Regions from separate parts of the Homo sapiens genome. Here all the other regions are linked to region 6. Evidence: promoter capture Hi-C in 16 types of primary human blood cells and fetal thymus (Javierre and others, 2016). All regions are on one chromosome and are shown on one strand. Each heading gives the region's core, a stretch centred on a gene start or on the middle of the fragment in contact. The rest is flanking DNA. Distances are from core to core; before and after follow the strand shown. Region 1 overlaps IQCH (IQ motif containing H). Region 2 overlaps PIAS1 (protein inhibitor of activated STAT 1). Region 3 overlaps PIAS1 (protein inhibitor of activated STAT 1). Region 4 overlaps PIAS1 (protein inhibitor of activated STAT 1). Region 5 overlaps IQCH (IQ motif containing H). Region 6 holds the start of SKOR1 (SKI family transcriptional corepressor 1). Region 7 has its middle 3.9 kb from the start of CLN6.

Region 1 (2,700 bases), core at 6-2,505, 350 kb before region 6:
ATCCCCATGATAACCCCAAGAAATCGATGTTAAGGATTATTATATACATTTTACAGAATAGGAAACTGAGGCTAAGCAAAGTTAAGTGAGCTGCCCAAGTCATAAAGGTGGTACATAGCAAAGCCCAGGTCTTCTGATTCAAGTCACCTTCTGATGAAAAGGTTTATTGGTTAGTTGGTCAGTTTTAATTTGAAATAATTGACCTTATCTTTGAAACTATTTAGTTTAATATGTGAAAATAATTGCTAACATTTATTGAGAGCTTACTGTGTGCCAGACACTATTCCAAGGTCTTTACATTCTCATCTAATCCTCCTCTCAATACTCCTATGCTATTCACTTGTGCTATCAGGCTGGACATAAGACAATCCTAGGTGATTGATAGTTTCTTCCTGTAGAAACTGTGCAGTTGGCTAGGTCTTCTAAAAAGTAGTTGTATCTTGTAAGTATTATTCTAATGCATTTATTTAGCACTTAATATGTGCCAGGACTTTCACCAAGCATCAGGAGACAAAGATAATTGACAAAGTCCCTATCCTTGAGGAGCTGAAAAGAAAGGCCATAGAGAGAGAGAGATGTTGCTATTAAAATAGATAACATACACATGGATAAATGCCATTTGAGTGACAGACCCTCAGCTTGCTGCCAGAGTTCTCAGGGGAAATGACCATGGACTGACAGGGACAGGGAACACTTTAATGAAAACACAGAACTTTATCCTGCCTTAAAGACTAGAACAGTCACTAACTGGCGAGGAGGGGAGGACGTCCCCTAGCAGATGGGACAGAGTCCAAAGAAACCTGTGGTCTGCTAGGAAAAGGCAGTGAACCAGTCAGACTGGAGCACAGAACTGGGGAAGTGGGAAGCAGGAGAAGTAGTTGGAAGGGTGCACTGAGCAAGTTTGGGGAGGTCTACCCACCACACCAGGGTCTAGATTTCACCGTGAAGGCAAAAAGGCCTGAATATTTCTGAATAGGAGGATGACACAGACCAACCTGTGTTAGGGGGAAATGATTAATCCGGTGATACTGTTCAGAATCCCAGGAGATGGGGGAAGAGTAGGGGAAAAAACAGCCTGGGAAGTTACATTTATTGTAGATCCAAAATCCTTTCAAAGGAATGACAACAAAAATAGTAGCTACCATTTATCAGGTTCCAGGCACTGCAGTAGGTGCTTATTTAATCATCAGAAGACAGAATTTCAATGATCTGTTCAAGATCACATACACAGTAAGTGGCCTTGTCAGGTTCTGAACTTCTTTCTCACTCCATATAACCTTTCCACTGCAGAATTCTGCTTGTATCCTCACCTCTGACTCTCCAGGCAATAAAGGTCTGGACTAGGATGGTGATGGTTATGGAAAAGAAGGTTGGGAGACATGTACCAAATATCCTGGCTCTTCCTTCAGATTCTTTATGCATCACAAACCCCAGTCTGGGAGGAAGGGGAGTTGCACTCTGCATCTGTAGTGAAGAAGAAACCTCAGGGTAGCCTGCCCTTACATGTTGTCTAGTAATCATGTACTACTGGACAGTAAGCTCTTCTGCTGTGCTTTGGAGCCAAGATACATAGTATTGCTAGATTGTGCTACCACATGCCTGCCTGCCTACCTCTCTTGCTGGCTGGGGTCTGGTCTTGGTTTTTCTTGTTTATATACTATGGCAGCATCAGACAAGTTTAGAAGACAAAAATAACCTTGGAATTATCTTGTGAATTCATGGCAATTACCATGCAATTACATGCTCAGTAACCACAATGGAATTTGAGAGTGTTTACAGTTCACTTCCATGTGCAAAAGCCCATGCTTCTGGGCTTTTCAGTGTGAAGGTGAGAGCATGGCCAGCCCAGTATGGCAGGGCGAGCAGGCCTTGTGGCCATGCCCTTCCAGACAGACTAGCTAGCTGGGCCAGAACTTCTCCAAGCCAGTTCTTTTTACCCCACCAATTATTCCTGCTTAGTCCACCAGAGCCATGCTGTCCTCCAGCAGGCAAGGCCCGGAGCAACTGCCCTGAGTTGTCCTTCTCTAAGGATGGTGTGACTGTCCCCTGTGCCATGTAATAATCACCTGCTTTTGCTCCAAAGCATTTATCAATGGGCAGTGTCTTTCTTAAATTACATACTTTGAAGAGTCTCTTAAGTCAGAGGGAAGAGCTATCCACCTAATCTATTTCATGTATTCATTCTCTTTTATTTAATAAACACCAAGTGCCTGTTCTGTGCTGGTATCATGCCCAAACTGGAGATTCAGAAACCAAACAGCGCCTGCCCTCAGAAAACTCCCAGTCATGGAGGGCAGATGACCAAGGGAACAACTCATGATAGGTCAGGGTGACAGAGTACAGTAGTGAGGCATATGAGGATCAAATCAATTTTCTGTTGTTAGAAAAATCCCAATGGCTACAAATGGGACGCTACAAGTGGGGTAAACAACTCAAGATGTATTAGCCTGTGGGGGCCTAACTCGTCTGTAGATGTGGACTCCACTTGCATTTAGGATGAGCAGCCTTAACTGGTGGCACTGATGATGTGACCTTCGGACACAGGACTTGATGTAAATGTTGAAGAAAAACATGCTCCCCCCATCATGTGTGAGGGGAGCATGTCACCAAAAGTGCCACGAAATCTGAGTGTGTGTGTGTGTGTGTGTGTGTGTGTGTGTGTGTGGAGAGGGAGAGAGGGATGCAGGAGAGGAAAGGAGG
Region 2 (2,700 bases), core at 57-2,556, 350 kb after region 6:
TCTATAAGCTTTTTTCTATTTTTAACATTTTTTACTTTTATTTTCTACTTTTTAAACTTTTTTGTTAAAAACAAAGACACAAACACACATTAGCCTAGGCCTGCACAGGGTCCGGATCATCAGTATCACTACTTTCCACCTCCACATCTTTTCCCACTGGAACGTCTTCAGTGGCAGTAACAGACATGGAGCTGTTCTCTCTTATGGTAACAGTGCCTTCTTCTGGAATACCTCCTGAAGGACCTGCCTGAGGCTGTTTTACAGTTAACTTTTAAAATATATATAAGTAAAGGGAGTACACTCCAAAATAATGATAAAAAGTATAGTAAATACAGAAACCAGTAACATGGCTGTCTTAATTTGAAGACCTCTATCGTATATGCGGTTCAGTGTTGACCAAAATGTTATGTGGTGCTTGATTGTAATCATATGCAGGAGTGTAGAGTTGGGAGTACACAGAAGGGAGTTACCAGTTTTTACTCTAGGTCCCTCCAGGTTATACTTCTGATACTGTAAACTGGCATTGCTCTAGTCTCAGTAAGTTTATAGCATGTTCAGTGTTCTATTTTTATTCATCATGGCTACATCTGGTTGAAGTAAGGAGGAAATAGTGTTAATTTAGAGAAAGTAAAAGAGGCCCAGAAAGGCTAAATGCCTTTCTTAGAGACACAGTAAATCATCGGTATCAAAGCAATTATTTTGGGCCCCAAATGACAGTTAATTTCCTGGTAGACTAGGAAATTTCACATTTCCCTGAAATTGATCTAAGTAAGCCAAGAATCTTTTCCTCATTTAACTCATATTCTTTTCAAGCCTTTATATTTTTCTTTCATATATATTTTTTTCTTTTATATGTTTTATATATATATAAAATACTTTAAGTTCTATGGTACATGTGCACAACGTGCAGGTATACATGTGCCATATTGGTTTGCTGCACCCGTTAACTCATCATTTACATTAGGTATTTTTCCTAATGCTATCCCTCCCCCAGCCCCCCACCCCAAGACAGGCCCTGGTGTGTGATGTTCCCCGCCCTGTGTCCAAGTGTTCTCATTGTTCAGTTCCCACCTATGAGTGAGAACATGTGATGTTTGGTTTTCTGTCCTTGTGATACTTTGCTCAGAATGATGGTTTCCAGCTTCATCCATGTCCCTGCAAAGGACATGAACTCATCCTTTTTTATGGCTGCATAGTATTCCATGGTATATATGTGCCACATTTTCTTAATTCAGTCTATCATTGATGGACATTTGGGGTGGTTCCAAGTCTTTGCTATTGTGAATAGTGCTGCAATAAACATACGTGTCCAGTGTGTCTTTATAAGTAGCATGATTTATAATAATCCTTTGGGTATATACCCAGTAATGGGATTGCTGGGTCAAATGGTATTTCTAGTTCCAGATCCTTGAGGAATTGCCACACTGTGTTCCACAATGGTGAACTAGTTTACAGTCCCACCAACAGTGTAAAAGCATTCCTATTTCTCCACATCCTCTCCAGCACAAGCGTTTATATTTTTCAAGTTCACAAATCTTTTCCTGGTACTTGGCAAATAATGTGGTTATTGAAAGTAGATAACTTCTCTGCTATATGGTGGCCATTGTGGGATCTGGGGACTCTACAGTGGTACAAGCTGGCTTCCAGGGAATGAGATAGTGATGTGGTACCTCCCTGTGCAGGTTTCTGCGTGGCTTTTCTGCCTTGGGCTAAAGCTAGCAGCTCAGGGACCAGATGAAGCAGATTTCCTCTTCCTGGATAGACTCAACCCGTGTTAGCTGAAGCAATATTTGCAGGGCAAGAAGTCTCCTGACATGCTGGAGATGCTAGAGGTCCAGGGCTGTAGGCTGAATTGCTCGTGATGGTTCCCAGTGAGGAAGCAATGCAGAGTGTGTGCACCTGCCTTCCTCCTCAGAGCTGCCACTTGGCAATTATGCCAAACATCATGGGGAATGATCACTATTGATTCAGTTTTGTCCTGTGAACTACTTTCATTCATAGATAAGACTGATAGCAAATATCAATGCATCTCTGTATTGTGCAGTATTTAATAGGGCATTCTTTATTTTCCCTAATCCCTAGTAAGGTGGTTCTTAAATTTTTTTTGGATCAAGGACTGCTTTAAGAATTTGAGAAAAGCCGGGCACAGTGGTGTGCGCCTGTATCCCCAGCTACTCTGGAGGCTGAGGCAGGAGGATTGCTTGAGCCCAGGAGTTTGAGGCTGTAGTGTGCTACGATTGTGCCTGTGAATAAGAGTTGGCACTTCAGCCTGGGCAATATAGCAAGACCCCATCTGTTTAAAAAAAAAAAACTGGTGAAAGCACTCTCTCCAGAAAAATGCACACACGAAATTTTGAATGTAATTCAAGGGGTTTATGACCCTCTCCACCAAAAGCTGATCTGTGAGCTGTGGATTTTAGTAAATAACCCTTGTTGTAGACTTTCCATAGTCATTTTGTTTGATAGCCAAAGAAATACTGTCATTTTTTAACCTATGGATATTTCACAGGAAATGTGTTTAATGTTCTTCTACATTGATGAAAAGTCAACACTGTATGCTTTAAATCAGCATGCCTACCTGTTGTGTTCTAGGAAATTTTTGTCAAAGCTTAAATGTTGAATAGCAATTATCTAATATTTACTTTTTCTCCCTTTTTAAAGCTTGGTAAAATGCGGCTGACAATTCCGTGTCGGGCCCTT
Region 3 (2,721 bases), core at 43-2,542, 370 kb after region 6:
CCCTGTGAGGAGTTTGTTTCCATCAGTTGTTGACTTTCCAAAATGTTGCATTAAGTAATAGTTGTCACTCTGTTGGTCTCATGGTCAATATCAATCAGACTTTCATGATCTCTACTAATTATTAGTAGAGTCCTGTACTATGTCTGTAACTACTAAGTTTAAAGAAAAGCACATAGTCACTTCATCTCTTTTTTTCTTAGCCTACGCTCACTCCCCAACCCATCCCAACATTGACATGCTATCTGTGGACAAATAGCAGTTCTCAGAATCTAGTCAAGTTGCCATCATCCCCCTTGCCTTGGCCGTTCATAGTAGGTATGCATATGTTTGTTTCTGTACAGTACTGTGTGTGTGTGTGTGTATATATATATACATCTGTATGCACACATCTTTGATAAAATAGCTATTTGACTAGCAGGGTTAAAGTGGCTTTTAATTACTTCGTGAGTGTTATTGGATACATCTTAAAAAAAAAAAATCTGAACCAGAACCATGCCATACTTGGTTGACTATTTTGAGCATTAAAATTGCTTTACTAATTATTTAGACATGATCACAATTCTGTATCTTTACTGAGGAAAGATTCACGTAAGCTCTGAAAAATCGGATTCTTTGGCAGATTTTCCTTTGAGTCAAGTGTCTGAAATGGAGTGAAAATATATCCTAACTAAATTAATGTGGAAAGAGCATTTTTTTAGACAATTTCAATTTTAAACACATAAAACTTTCAAGATCTTCAGGACTTTTTAAAGCACATTTGAAATTATTTTAGTAAGAATTTTGTTTTATCAATAGATGTTGAATTCTGTTTTTTAATTAAATACAAAGCTTAGATTTCAGAAAGAGAGGGAAAATAGCTGGTGGTCCCAGAGTGTGCTGCTGTTAATTGTTTAACAAAGGGGAAAATGTACATAAACAGATAAAGTTACCATAAATTCCATGAACTTAAATCTGTGATTCATTGCCTTAAAACTTTCTCTCTTAGAATTTCCATACCGCATGCCAAACCAGTAAAATGGCTTTTAAAAATGTATAGTAGACAATGTCAGTTTGTATAAAAGTACCAAGTGAAAATATTTATTACATGCATTGGAAAAAAATTGTTTACCTATTGAATGTTACCTGTTTATGTAGAGCTCTTTAGATGTAATAAAAGAAAAGCCTTCAGTTAATTTGTCTTCTGTAAAATAACACTGCTGGATGTTCAAGGGGACAATCCCTATGAGACAAGTGATAATGGTTTGTGCTTCCAAAGCACCTTTCATCCAGAGATTTCAAAGCATGACAAGTAACTAACTAATTTTCTTGCAGCATGCTTTGAGGTAAGTAATGAATATAGCCATCATTTCCCTTTCTTGTTGAAATATGGCTAACTCTTTAATAAATCACAGCATCTGTTTAGTATCTGCAGTTTGAATGCTAAGAGCACCGTGGCCTTCTTGTAAACAACACTAGGTGCTAGAGAAACCAGCTGGAATTTCAGGAATGAGCTTGAAACCAGGACCAGGAGTAAGGTAACAGCCCTTCCTCGGGTAGAGGTTTGAATCAAACACTTAATAGGATCTTAGACTCTGGACCACTGAATCCCTTAATGAGCAGGGAGTCCGTGAAGAGGAGCCCCAGGTTCTAATGACCATTCCACACCAACTGTGTGTTTTTGGCAAGTTATATTTCAGATTCCTGTTAGGCAAATGAGATTCATAAAACTTGCTTTAAAACCATACTGGGACTATTCAGTGATAAATATAGACATAGAAAAGCTTTGACGGAAAGTACCCTCATTTATTATATCCAGAACTTGCTCTTCCTGTGCCATCTAAATCATTGGTATCTATCTCCCATCTAATCTTTGGTATTCCAGGTTGGCTGTGCAGGATTTACTTCCTAATGTCCATGACTGGAGCTCAAAAGAACTGTGGGCCTAGGACCTTTGAGCTTTGCCTGAAAGTGACAGCAGTTCTCTCGGCGGGGCCAGCATCTAACCGGCCCTCTGGTGGATTTACCATGAAGGTAATGAAGTTTAAGCACCAGGACCCTTCACTTGTTCTGGTCCTAGGAGCAGCCCCAGAAATTCTGCATTTCTGTTTTTGTATTCTTAAGGCAGCCAAATCTCGTAAACCTCAGACCCCACAAAACATCTGCTCCTACACTGTGTGGACCTGGGCTTCCCAGCCAGATGGTCACAACTTCACCTAGTTGGCATTTGGGCCATTTATTTACCCTCACCCCACAAAACTCTTTGGCTCCTAGGAATTCCTCCTCTCCTTGCAGTTATGCTTGGGGAAATGAGAGTCTCCTTCCTCAGGGCCTTGTTTGGGTCTGAAGCCACACAGCATCGTTGAGACAGTTGCACTAACACTACAACTCTTGTTCCCTGCAGTTTTCCCTGTGCCCGGTGCCTAGTGAAAGATTTGTGTCTTGTACATCCTCCCAAAAGACACATCCCATTTGATTTGGTTTTCTTCTACTTTAGCCACTGTGGTACTACTAGACAAAGCCACAGCCCAGAGAACCCACTTTTGATACATACATGGATGCAAATCTTTGTACTTGAAGCCCTGCACCCCTACCTGTGTTGGTGTGGTACTCCAGCCCTTTTAGGACTGTGCTGGCACTACGAATGATCCAGATTTGACAAGTGTATGGCACCTCTGAATCTCTGGCAGCACCAACCTGGCACCTTCTAGCTGTGTAACTCACTCAAAGCCACTCCAGCTGGAT
Region 4 (2,700 bases), core at 46-2,545, 310 kb after region 6:
GAGGCAGGAGAATCAGGCAGGGAGGTTGCAGTGAGCCGAGATGGCAGCAGTACAGTCCAGCTTCGGCTCGGCATCAGAGGGAGACCGTGGAAAGAGCTGAAATTTAGATTTTTAAAATATGAACTAAAATTCCAGATATATTAAATAATTACATAGAAACAATAAGCCAAAAAATTAATTGTGTATTTATTGAATTTATGCAAAGGAACAGCTAAGTTCAGAATTAGCAGAAGAATTTAAAAGGAGATTGTTGACAGATTGGACCACATAAAAATCTTTTATATCATCTAAAAATATAGCCCAAATGAAATTTAAAAAATTGTAGCAGACTGGAGGAAATATTTGTAGCAAATTTCCAGGGTTTTAATATTCTTGTATATGAAACCCTTATGCAAATACATAAATAGGCATAGGACAAGGCTGGACAATTAGTTAAATAGGAAATTCAGCAAATAACAAAACATGGAAATATTTTAGATGTGAATTAAACTTCTCAAGAGTTACCAGGATCCATTCATTAAATTAGCAGCAACTCCCATGCTGGCCAGAGTGTAATCACTAGATGCATAAATTGCTGATGGTCTTATATGTAAAACAACCATTTGAAAAGCACTCTTGCGATGTGTCAGGATTCATAAAAATCTTCATACTTTTTGACCCTGAAATCTCACACCTGGGAATTGATCCAAATAAAATAATAACCTGCCCCCCTTCCAAAAAACAAACCTTTAAGCCCAAAGATATCCACAGAGTTATTTCAAATAGTGAAAAATTAGAAATAACCTAAATGACTAATCAGGGGAGTAATTAAAATGTTCATATGTCCCCTGAGAGAATACAGTAATTAAAAATGGTAATAGAGACTGCAATTGAAAATGTAATAAGGGTAATTTTTTTAAAGCAAGCTTTCATATTGTATCTATAGTTTGATATGAGAATGACTGGAAGGAAATAGATAAAAGTCATAAGCAGTTACAATAAGAGGATAATAGGTAATTCTTTTCCGATTTTCTGTGATCCAGTGTAATGCAAGGCTGCACTGGTAGGAGTACAGCACCGAGATCAAGAGAGCTAATAAACCTATGTTATGAGAGGAACACGGACTTTGGAGGCAGGAGATGTACAGATTGAGTTCCAGTTCTGAGTTTTCTACTTACAAATTTGAAGGCTTGACAAGTTAGTAATTACTCTGAACCTCAATTTCTTCATCTGAAAAATGGTCTGATAACATTGTCTTCATGATTATTGTATGGATTAACTACTAGAAAGTAGTTAATGAAAGTAGTGTTCTACTGACATCACATCTGGAAGAATATATCAATCAACTTAGAAGCAACCTTAGATCTCAATGGCTAACAACTATTAGAAACAACTAAAGAAGATTTGGGCATGTAATCCCAGGACTTTGGGAGGCCAAGGTGGGAGGATTCTTGAGGCCAGGCATTCCAGTTCAGCCTGGGCAACACAGCAATACCTCATCTCTACAAAATAAAAAATAAAAAAAATTAGTCGGGCATGGTGGCACCCACTATTGTAGTGCCAGCTACTGTAGAGACTGAGGCAGGAGGATTGCTTGAGCACAGGAGTTTGAGGCTGCAGTGAGCTATGATCATGCCACTGCACTCTAGCGTGGGAACAGGGCAAGACCCTGTCTCTAAAAAAGAAAGAAAAAATAACCAAAGAAATAAAGCTTCTTTCCCACTTATGTTATTTAACTAGCTGTAGACTGTGACTCTGCTATATGTTTTGTTTGCTCTGGGATCAAGGCAGAGGGGAAACAAAGACAGTAAAGCCTTAGGTGCCTCTTGAACTGCTTGAAAGTGGTACACTACCACTCCTATTTCATTGACCAAGGGTAATGTCCATGGCCCTGAACATTATCCTCCCATTGGGATAGGCCAATACAGAAGGGCAACACATATTTTGAACAAATGATATGTGCTGTGACAGTGCTGTCCAGTTCTGTCACTTTATTTATTTATTTATGAATGAATGAATGAGACGGAGTTTCACTCTTGTTGCCCAGGCTGGAGTGCAGTGCGGCGATCTCGGCTCACTGCAACCTCTGCCTCCCAGGTTCAAACTATTCTCCTGCCTCAGCCTCCCAGGTAGCTGGGATTACAGGCGCATGCCACCACACCTGGCTAATGTTTGTATTTTTGGTAGAGACAGGGTTTCACCATGTTGGCCTGGCTGGTCTTGAACTCCTGACCTCAGATGATCTGCCCGCCTCAGTCTCCCAAAGTGCTGGGATTACAGGCGTGAGCCACCATGCCCAGCCAGTTCTGTCACTTTAATAAGGGTGTAACAACCTGGGGTACGTCTGGAGGAGGAAGATTTGGACAGTGAGTAATTCTGAAATCTTTACTAAAATACAGTGGGAAGAGTCATTGGAAAGGGAGGGGCATATTAAGTCTCTTCAAATATTTGAAGAATGGCTGTCACTGGATGGTGAGATTAGTTCAGTGCTGTGTGGCATCAGTGGGTGGAAGTTACGGCCTCATATATTTTGACTCAGTATAGTGGTAAGGAGAAAAGTGAGAAGAAAAGGAAATTATTGGTTGTTTTCAATATGTTACTCATTTACATTCTTCAAAATAATCCTAACAGAGCGTGTATGTTTCTGTGTTTAAATATTGGAAGAAAGACTCAGAGTGAATGAATACCCAAGGTCACATGGCACGTAAGTGGCAAAACCGG
Region 5 (2,700 bases), core at 186-2,685, 390 kb before region 6:
GTGACTGCATCCATTTCAAATTCATGCCCATTGGCCCCAGCTGGGCCCCATAATTTACCATGCTGACGCAGGAGGGGCAAAGGGGACTGGGGGCCAAGGCAAAATAGATAAAATGACAGCAATGCCTCAAGGACAGTCCCACAATTGTGAATCAACTCCAGAAAAGAAAGTGGAGAATTCTTTCTAGACCTAAGGAGATGAGAATGAGGTTCTAGCAGAATAGAAGAAGTTGTGGAAATGTAAGACTTAAATATTGGAAGCATCAAGTAGAACACACGGTCATTTTGTAATCAAGGAAGAAGGGGCTGGTCCCTGGGAAATGGAGATGGTGGAGCATGGTCTAAGATTACTCCTGCCAGTGGATTTAGGTCCAGGATTTTGGTACCCTAGAAATGGGGAAATTCTAGGCCTTCAGAGATGGCACGCAGAGTACATGGCACTCCAGAATACACAGAGCTACAAGGCAGCCATGTTGGAGATCTGGCCTTCCCACATAAGGATAATATTATGTAAGGGGATCCAAGCAGTAAACAAATAGCAGCAAAAGCTATTTCCAAATCCTGATGGGTCCTGGAGCCAGGATCAATGATAAACAGTATCTAGTAGGTTCTAGGAGGGATATGAAGTACTTACTAAAGGCTTTAAGTTGAGGAGGATGACAAGTTCATTGAACAAACACCTTCAGAGGACCTACTCTGGCTTCCTGTTAGGTGCTGTGGAAATAAACAAGACATCTTCTGTATCATGACAAAGCTTATTTCATATCCATCGTCCCATTTTATTTGCTATACATGCACACAATTGTTTTATACTTGTATTGATTCATAGGTATAAATATTGCCTCCATGAGATTTTTTTAATCCTTTAGAAAATGTACTAGGCCTTGAATTTTTTTTACCTCTTCATAATGTCTAACACAATGATGGTCATATTTGGCCAGCCACCTGATTATTATTTGTTGATTTATGGACTTTTGGAACTTCTAGATGATCCAGATCTTTTGTAGTTAATTACTCACTTTGGGGAAACTCTAAAAAAAACAAGTGTTTATTGAGCATCTATTATGTATAAGCCATAATGCTAGGTGCTAGAGAAGCTACAAAGATGCAAAAGACATGGAAGTGCCTGCCCTTAGGGAGTTCACATTCTAGTTGGGAAGATAGGCTTGAAAAATGAGTAGCAAGGAAAGGCTTAAGTGACAACTACGTAGAACAATAAAAGAGACATCAAAAAGGTAATATCAGTTTAACGGCCAAATGATTTTTCTACATGCATTCAGACAAGAGAAAGATCCCTTCTGTTGGGAGCAATCAAGAAAGGTTTTGCAGAGAAGGTGGGATTTGAGCCGAAAGAAAATTAGGATATGAGGAGGGTAAGAAAGAGTGTATTCCAAGTGAGAAACAGGCTCACTTGGTGGGAAAGAGTGGTGGGAAAAAGCACAGAACACATATGGATAAAAATGATGATCTAAGTCTTACAAATATCATGTTGGATTCACCTCAAGTAAATATACATTTATATAGCAATTCTCCCATTCCTGTTCCTCATATAAAAGTCTCTAAACAAATAGATTGGCAAAGATGCTCTATATGAAAATTCCCAAATTAAAAAATTCTTTCAGAACAAGATCATGTCCTGCATTTGCAGGGACATGGATGTAGCTGGAGGTCATTATCCTTAGTAAACTAACACAGGAACAGAAAACCAAATACTGCATGTTCCCACTTATAAGTGGGAGCTAAATGATGAGAATACAGGGACACATAGAGGGGAACACCACGCACTGAGGCCTATCAAAGGGTGGAGGGTGGGAGGAGGGAGAGAATCAGGAAAAATAACTCCTGGGTACTAGGCTTAATACCTGGGTGATGAAATAATGTGTACAACAAACCCCCATGGCACAAGTTTACCTGTGTAGCAAACCTGCACACGTACCCCGAACTTAAAAGTTAAAAAAAAACACACATTGTTCTTTATATTTCACAGGAAATTGAATAGATATAAGGTTCATTAATTATCATAGAATTTAGTTGAACATTTCCTACCAATATCAATAGTTTTTTAGATTGTAGCCTCTTGTTTCTTGAGGAGCATGGTGATCTGGCTTTTACCAAATAAAAGCTTCAGGTGATGGAAAAAGGAAAAAAAGTTCTTTTAGCCTGGGCATCAAGACTCATCTCTAAAATTAAAAATAAAAAATTAGTTGGGCATGGTGGCACACATCTGTAATCCTACCTACATGGGAGGCTGAGGCAGGAGGATCACTTAAGCCCAGGAGTTGGAGGCTGGCTGCAATAAGCTAGGATCTCGCCACTGCACTCCAGCCTGGATGACAGAGCAAGACCCTGTCTCAAAAATAAATAAATAAATTAACTCTTATTTTAGATAATTGTGAACTTTGAAACAACAATCTGTATTATAAGCATTGATAGTTAATACTTTTTTTGAAAAAGGAAATTAAAGAAAATCCAAGCTTTAAGAAGAATTGATATGAAAACTAGCTATTGGAGAGTAGTAATGGCCCTTCCAAAACATAAAGTTAGCTACAGAAAGGAAATAAGACTTGTCACAAAGTACAGATTGTGAGGAAAGATGAAAATGGAGGCCCTGATATATACCGCAGTATATCCCATAAAGTCTGAAAACGATTTTTAAGAGTTTCTAAATACAGAATATCAGCCTAGAATAAAAAAAAATCTG
Region 6 (2,700 bases), core at 187-2,686:
CTGTATGCGGGCCAGGCATAGTTGCCGATTTCGAGAAACCGAGAAGCTGTCATTTCCCAGCGCTGCGCGCCCTCCAGCCACCTCCAGGAGGGCGCGAGGCTTGTCAGCCGGGGAGTTAGGACAGTGTTTTTGCCTCCTACAATGATATAAAGGACTTCAACGCGAAATAAGGGTCAACTTATTTTAGTTCGATCCTCGGAGATAAAGATGAAACAGACAGATAATACATAAATAGCTTGATACTTGAAGAAGGTACAAAACAGATGAGAGAAAGAGGAACGAGCCGGCAGAGACAGCTCAGGGACAGATAAGATCGACAAATGAGGGTCTCCTAGACAAATAGAGAAGAAGGGAGAGAGACAGATAAACAGAAGATTCCAGTCTCCTTGCTGAAGGCTTTTGAACTGGGATCCCCTGTCTGGAGCTGCCCCTCTGAAAACGGAGTTACATTCAGGGCCGACTGCAGGGGAGGAGCCCTCAGGGTTGGGCTGCCCTGGCCGCAGGAGCGCCTGCAGCCTTGGGCCGGATGGGAGCCTGGCTTGTCTGAGGACATGTGGCTGGGTCAGGCGACCTAGAGGGCCCCAAACATCAGTCCCCAAGTACCCCCGCTGCTGAGGTCTGCCTGCACAGCTCCCTCCCTGCCTCAGCCAGAAAGCAAAGTGCAAGGACCAGCAGCAACTTGTGTGCCTGGAGCCTTGCAATGGCTACGAAGATGGCTGAGATTCCTTCTAGCCCATATGAGCCGGGACAGCGAGGCATGAAGGATACTCAGAGAGGTGATGCCCCTCAAAGAGGAAGCCCAGAGCCCCGAATCCTGCAGTTGGCCCGAGTGGGAAACGTATATCTGAAGGAGGAAAGCTCAAGGAGTGGGCGACTGGAAGCTAAGAAGTGGATCCCAACAAAGTTCCTTGAGAACCTCTCTGTCCCACACGTTGACCTCGGTGGAAACCAGCTTTGGTCTGGAATACAGCTAAAAATGCAGAAAATGTGGTTAGAACTGCAGGATCCTGGTCTCACTAATAGCTGGAAAGAAAACGGTTTATATATCCAGCCGAAATCTTTCTGCTCAACGAACGCGGGCGCCAGCCGTGAGAGGAGAAGCTCGGGTTTGTGGAAACTGGCAATGTTGTCCCCTGAAGCCGGCTCGGGCACCAAGCTGGGTGCGGTGGGGGCCGCGCTAGGTCCGGGTGCGCACCGAGCGCTTTGGAGAGGGTCAGGTTCAGCACCGCGAACAGCGGTAGCCTCCGCCTCTCTCCTTCCCTGGCAGACACGGTTCCCTCCTCCTTCTCCTCACCCCCCTCCTTCTCTTCACCCCCCTCTACCCCCTGCTGTCTGGAGATGGGCAGTGACCGCCCCTCCCCCCTCCCCACCCCTCCTTGCACTGCCCCCGCCCGCCCGCGTGCATGCGCGACTGAGCAGAGGGGCGGCCGATCCCCGAAGTCCGGGCTTCAGGACCCGGGCCGGCAGCACCGGCTGCGAGGGTTGCCGAAGGCGCACGGATCTGGGCGCTGAAAAAGCCAGGATTTGGCAATGGCTTTGCTGTGTGGCCTTGGGCAAGTCACTCTGCGTATCTGGGTTTCACTTCCTTCCCAATCCGAAAACGGGATTGGGTTCCTTGCAGCCCGGGCATTCCTGAGGTCTCCTTTACCCCTTCTCCTCCCCCAAGCCCCGGGGGCTGTTGTTAACGGCGCCAACATGGGTCTGAGTAACAAAAGACGCCTGTCCAGGGGGTGAATGAGTTTGGACTCCCCACTGCCAAGTATCCCCCGCGCGCCCAACTCGGAGCGCCCTGCTGGGCGGGCCCGAGCCTCGGCGGCGGCGCTGAAAATGGCTCATCTGCTCTCTGCTTTCTCTATTTCGCAGGAGCGGCGGCATGGAGGCTCTCACCACTCAGCTGGGGCCGGGGCGCGAGGGCAGTTCCTCGCCCAACTCCAAGCAGGAGCTGCAGCCGTACTCGGGCTCCAGCGCTCTCAAACCCAACCAGGTGGGCGAGACGTCGCTGTACGGGGTGCCCATTGTGTCGCTGGTCATCGACGGCCAGGAGCGCCTATGCCTGGCGCAGATCTCCAACACCCTCCTCAAGAACTACAGCTATAATGAGATCCACAACCGCCGCGTGGCCCTGGGCATCACGTGCGTGCAGTGCACGCCGGTACAGCTGGAGATTCTGCGTCGGGCCGGGGCCATGCCCATCTCGTCGCGCCGCTGCGGCATGATCACTAAGCGAGAGGCCGAACGCCTGTGCAAGTCGTTCCTGGGCGAGCACAAACCACCCAAGCTGCCCGAGAACTTCGCCTTCGATGTGGTGCACGAGTGCGCGTGGGGCTCGCGTGGTAGCTTCATCCCTGCGCGTTACAACAGCTCTCGTGCCAAGTGCATCAAGTGCGGCTACTGCAGCATGTACTTCTCGCCCAACAAGTTCATCTTCCACTCGCACCGAACACCCGACGCCAAGTACACGCAGCCCGATGCCGCCAACTTCAACTCCTGGCGTCGTCACCTCAAACTCAGTGACAAGTCGGCCACAGACGAACTGAGCCATGCTTGGGAGGACGTCAAGGCCATGTTTAATGGCGGCACGCGCAAGCGGACCTTCTCCCTACAAGGAGGCGGCGGAGGCGGTGCCAATGGCGGGTCGGGTGGGCAGGGGAAGGGTGGTGCTGGCGGCGGTGGCGGCGGTGGCCCAGGGTGCGGTGCAGA
Region 7 (2,700 bases), core at 149-2,648, 410 kb after region 6:
CCCTGGTTCAAGTGATTCTCCTGCCTCACCCTCCCAAGTAGCTGGGACTACAGGCATGCACCACCACGCCTGGCTAATTTTTTATATTTTTAGTAGAGACGGGGTTTCACCATGTTAGCCAGGCTGGTCTTGATCTACTGACCTTGTGATCTGCCCGCCTTAGTCTCTCAAAGTGCTGGGATTGCAGGCGTGAGCCACTGCACCAGGCCTGTATCAGATACTTTTAAATGTATCGCCTAAGATCCGTTAGACACACCAGTCTTCCAGCTCCTTGCCACTTGTTTTGTCCAGCTGCTGTGACAACTGACTTCACCCAGGCAGAAGTCAACTGCACCTCCTCTCCCCTTGGCCCCACACCCTTGGCCTCAGAAGTGCAGGAGTGTTGGACACTCCATGGAGTGAACTTTGACCAGCAAGAGACAGGGATTAGCAAATAAATTTTTCTCTCTTCCTCTTTCTGGACAGACTGGCCTGAGTTCCGAGTTCACACAGCCACTTTAAAGAAGGTCCTGGGCCATGCGCAGTGGCTCACACCTGTAATCCCAGCACGTTGGGAGGCCAAGGTGGGTGGACCACGTGAGGTCAGGAGTTCAAGACCAGCCTGACCAACATGGTGAAACCCTGTCTCTACTAAAAATACAAAAACGAACTGGGTGTCGTGGCATGTGCCTGTAATCCCAGCTACTTGGGAGGCTGAGGCAGGAGAAATTGCATGAACCCAGGAGGCAGAGGTTGCAGTGAGCCGAGATCACGCCACTGCACTCTAGTCTGGGCGACAGAGCAAGGCTCAGTCTCAAAATAAATAAATAAATAATAAAGAAGGTCCTGTAAGGTCTAGCATCCTTCCAGACGGAGTGGTGGCCAGCTCCGCAGTGCACTCTCTTGTGTGCCCTCCCTTCTCCTCTGTCTCACTCCCCCTTGTCCTCACTTCCCCTTCCCAGCCACCACACTCCCCAATACAGTGTTAGCATACATGCTGCCCTGCTCTGCTTCTTTGGAAACCTGGGCTAAGACAAAGATCTTTCCAGCATGCTCAATGTATGAAACACCTACGGGGGGGTGGGGGGGGTGGTGCCCTGAGTGAAGAGAAGCAGGGTCCCAGGTGCCATCTCTTCTCCCCTTATGGTTACAAGGCCGTGGCCAAGTCACCTCCAAAGGGCTCCCTGGAAAGCCTTTGATCTTGCCTAATTTCATCATTCTGCAGCTGCGGAAAATGAAGCCTAAAGCCACACAGCGAGTTAGAAGCCAAGCCAGGCCAGAATCCAGTCTCCACTCCTAATCCAGTACCCTTTCTATCCAGTCTCTTAAGAGCTTTTGAAAATTTCTCTTTCTTCAAAACATCTTCCCACACTGCCCTGCCACCAGAAGGCTTTGAAGGCCCCTGCTAGACTGCAGCTACCATCTGAGAGACATGACACACAGAATCCTGGATCCAGAGGCTGGGACTCCAGAAGGCAGACAGACGAAGTGGGACCAGGAAAACTCAGTTACTTTGGAGAGAGGCAGCCAGGAGGGGCCTGACTAGGGGATCTCTAAGTGTGGGCAACAAGACTGTGCACAGTGAGAAGGCTGCACAAGGACAGACAGCAAGGGACTGGGGCACTGGGGGAAGATGGAGACTGTCTTTCTGTGTCAACTGGTATTGCCTGCAGGACACTCCCCATCTGGCTGAAGAAGCTGGGAGGGTGACCAGAAGTCACACTGTGGGGAGAGAGAAGGTCCCCAGGTTGTGTTTAATTCAGATTCTTGTGGTTGTGATTACTAGAAGCAACGGGGGACAGGTTGATGACAAAAGGGGATTTCTATTACAAGGATTTAGGGGTGTCTTAGGGAACCTAAGCATAAGGATGCAGTTGGGCCTCAGGAACTGAGAATGGTGCTGGGACTTTGGGAGCCCAGGAAGGCACCACCCACAACACTGTTTCCATGTCATCCTTCTCTCTTTCTCCCTGCAGACTGGCTTTCCTGGCTTTCCAGGAAATACAGCAGCCGACGGCCTCAGTCAGCAGCTCCCAAGTTTATCTTTCTTCCATCCAAGAGATAAGCAGAATGTGGGTGGCCTCTTCTGGGCCCAATTCAAAATTCCCGCGGAGGGATTCTGATTGGATGGCTTGAGCCAGTGCCCACCCTGAGCCAGGCAGTGTACCGATATGGCTGCTCCTTCTCTAACCAGACAGCCAAGGGAAGGAGAAGTGTATAGTTCACGGCCCTGAGTTTGCAACTTGAACAAAAGCCCTAATATAGGGCTCTATTTCCACCCATTAATGGAAGAGATCACTGCCTTTTACATGTGGCTATAAATTCAGACCCTGCCTAGAAGCCTGCTGTCCCCATGACAGCCCAGAGCTGAATTGCTCTCTGCTAGCCCGTTCCCCTCCCGTCTGCTGCTGAGAGCTAGGAGAAGCTGAGAGGCTCCCAGAGCCCTCCACTCTTTTCCTTATCATTTCTTTTTCCTTATAATTTCTTTCACTCTTAACAGTTGACAAAGGCCGGGCGCGGTGGCTCACGCATGTAATCCCAGCACTTTGGGAGGCCAAGGTGAGCAGATCATTTGAGGTCGGGAGTTTGAGACCAGCCTGGCCAACATAGTGAAACTCCGTCTCTACTAAAAATACAACAATTAGCTGGGCATGGTGGCAGGTGCCTGTAATCCCAGCTACTCGGGAGGCTGAGGCAGGAGAATTGCTTGAACCCGGGAGA

What was found. The method cuts DNA at HindIII sites, captures the fragments that hold promoters and counts their contacts. A CHiCAGO score of 5 or more calls a contact.
Region 1: a contact is called between a fragment that was not itself captured here and the fragment with the promoter of SKOR1 in region 6, in 9 of 17 cell types (naive CD4 T cells, naive CD8 T cells, total CD4 T cells and 6 more). The highest score is 9.6, in naive CD4 T cells.
Region 2: a fragment that was not itself captured here is called in contact with the fragment with the promoter of SKOR1 in region 6 in 1 of 17 cell types (megakaryocytes); the score reaches 5.7 in megakaryocytes.
Region 3: a fragment that was not itself captured here is called in contact with the fragment with the promoter of SKOR1 in region 6 in 4 of 17 cell types (erythroblasts, neutrophils, megakaryocytes and 1 more); the score reaches 6.8 in erythroblasts.
Region 4: a contact is called between a fragment that was not itself captured here and the fragment with the promoter of SKOR1 in region 6, in 2 of 17 cell types (megakaryocytes and erythroblasts). The highest score is 6.7, in megakaryocytes.
Region 5: a fragment that was not itself captured here is called in contact with the fragment with the promoter of SKOR1 in region 6 in 7 of 17 cell types (total CD8 T cells, naive CD4 T cells, naive CD8 T cells and 4 more); the score reaches 6.4 in total CD8 T cells.
Region 7: a contact is called between a fragment that was not itself captured here and the fragment with the promoter of SKOR1 in region 6, in 1 of 17 cell types (neutrophils). The highest score is 7.8, in neutrophils.

Annotation. Positions count from the first base shown.
Region 1 is chr15:67,471,440-67,474,139 of GRCh38, forward strand. The region is part of intron 17 of IQCH (IQ motif containing H); the gene reads left to right. All of the region lies in intron 2 of IQCH-AS1 (IQCH antisense RNA 1), which reads right to left. Among named protein-coding and RNA genes, the nearest start is that of C15orf61, 48 kb to the right of the region's middle. The HindIII fragment of the contact is 4,188 bases long and covers 1-2,700 here.
Region 2 is chr15:68,171,071-68,173,770 of GRCh38, forward strand. It overlaps PIAS1 (protein inhibitor of activated STAT 1), which reads left to right. Exons shown (of 14, transcript NM_016166.3): 9 at 2,662-2,700. Among named protein-coding and RNA genes, the nearest start is that of CALML4, 33 kb to the right of the region's middle. The HindIII fragment of the contact is 2,600 bases long and covers 7-2,606 here.
Region 3 is chr15:68,190,293-68,193,013 of GRCh38, forward strand. It overlaps PIAS1 (protein inhibitor of activated STAT 1), which reads left to right. Exons shown (of 14, transcript NM_016166.3): 14 at 1-2,721. CALML4 (calmodulin like 4) reads right to left here. Exons shown (of 5, transcript NM_033429.3): 5 at 413-2,721. Among named protein-coding and RNA genes, the nearest start is that of CALML4, 14 kb to the right of the region's middle. The HindIII fragment of the contact is 932 bases long and covers 827-1,758 here.
Region 4 is chr15:68,136,494-68,139,193 of GRCh38, forward strand. The region is part of intron 2 of PIAS1 (protein inhibitor of activated STAT 1); the gene reads left to right. Among named protein-coding and RNA genes, the nearest start is that of CALML4, 67 kb to the right of the region's middle. The HindIII fragment of the contact is 785 bases long and covers 904-1,688 here.
Region 5 is chr15:67,429,688-67,432,387 of GRCh38, forward strand. All of the region lies in intron 16 of IQCH (IQ motif containing H), which reads left to right. IQCH-AS1 (IQCH antisense RNA 1) reads right to left here. Exons shown (of 6, transcript NR_040052.1): 4 at 634-713. Among named protein-coding and RNA genes, the nearest start is that of C15orf61, 90 kb to the right of the region's middle. The HindIII fragment of the contact is 1,368 bases long and covers 752-2,119 here.
Region 6 is chr15:67,824,073-67,826,772 of GRCh38, forward strand. SKOR1 (SKI family transcriptional corepressor 1) reads left to right here and starts at 1,437. Exons shown (of 9, transcript NM_001365915.1): 1 at 1,437-1,637; 2 at 1,864-2,700. The coding sequence starts at 1,531. LOC124903570 reads left to right here. Exons shown (of 4, transcript XM_047433429.1): 3 at 567-1,330; 4 at 1,441-1,512. The coding sequence ends at 1,512. The HindIII fragment of the contact is 26,599 bases long and covers 1-2,700 here.
Region 7 is chr15:68,232,248-68,234,947 of GRCh38, forward strand. It overlaps a transcript of CLN6 not described here. Among named protein-coding and RNA genes, the nearest start is that of CLN6, 3.9 kb to the left of the region's middle. The HindIII fragment of the contact is 4,684 bases long and covers 1-2,700 here.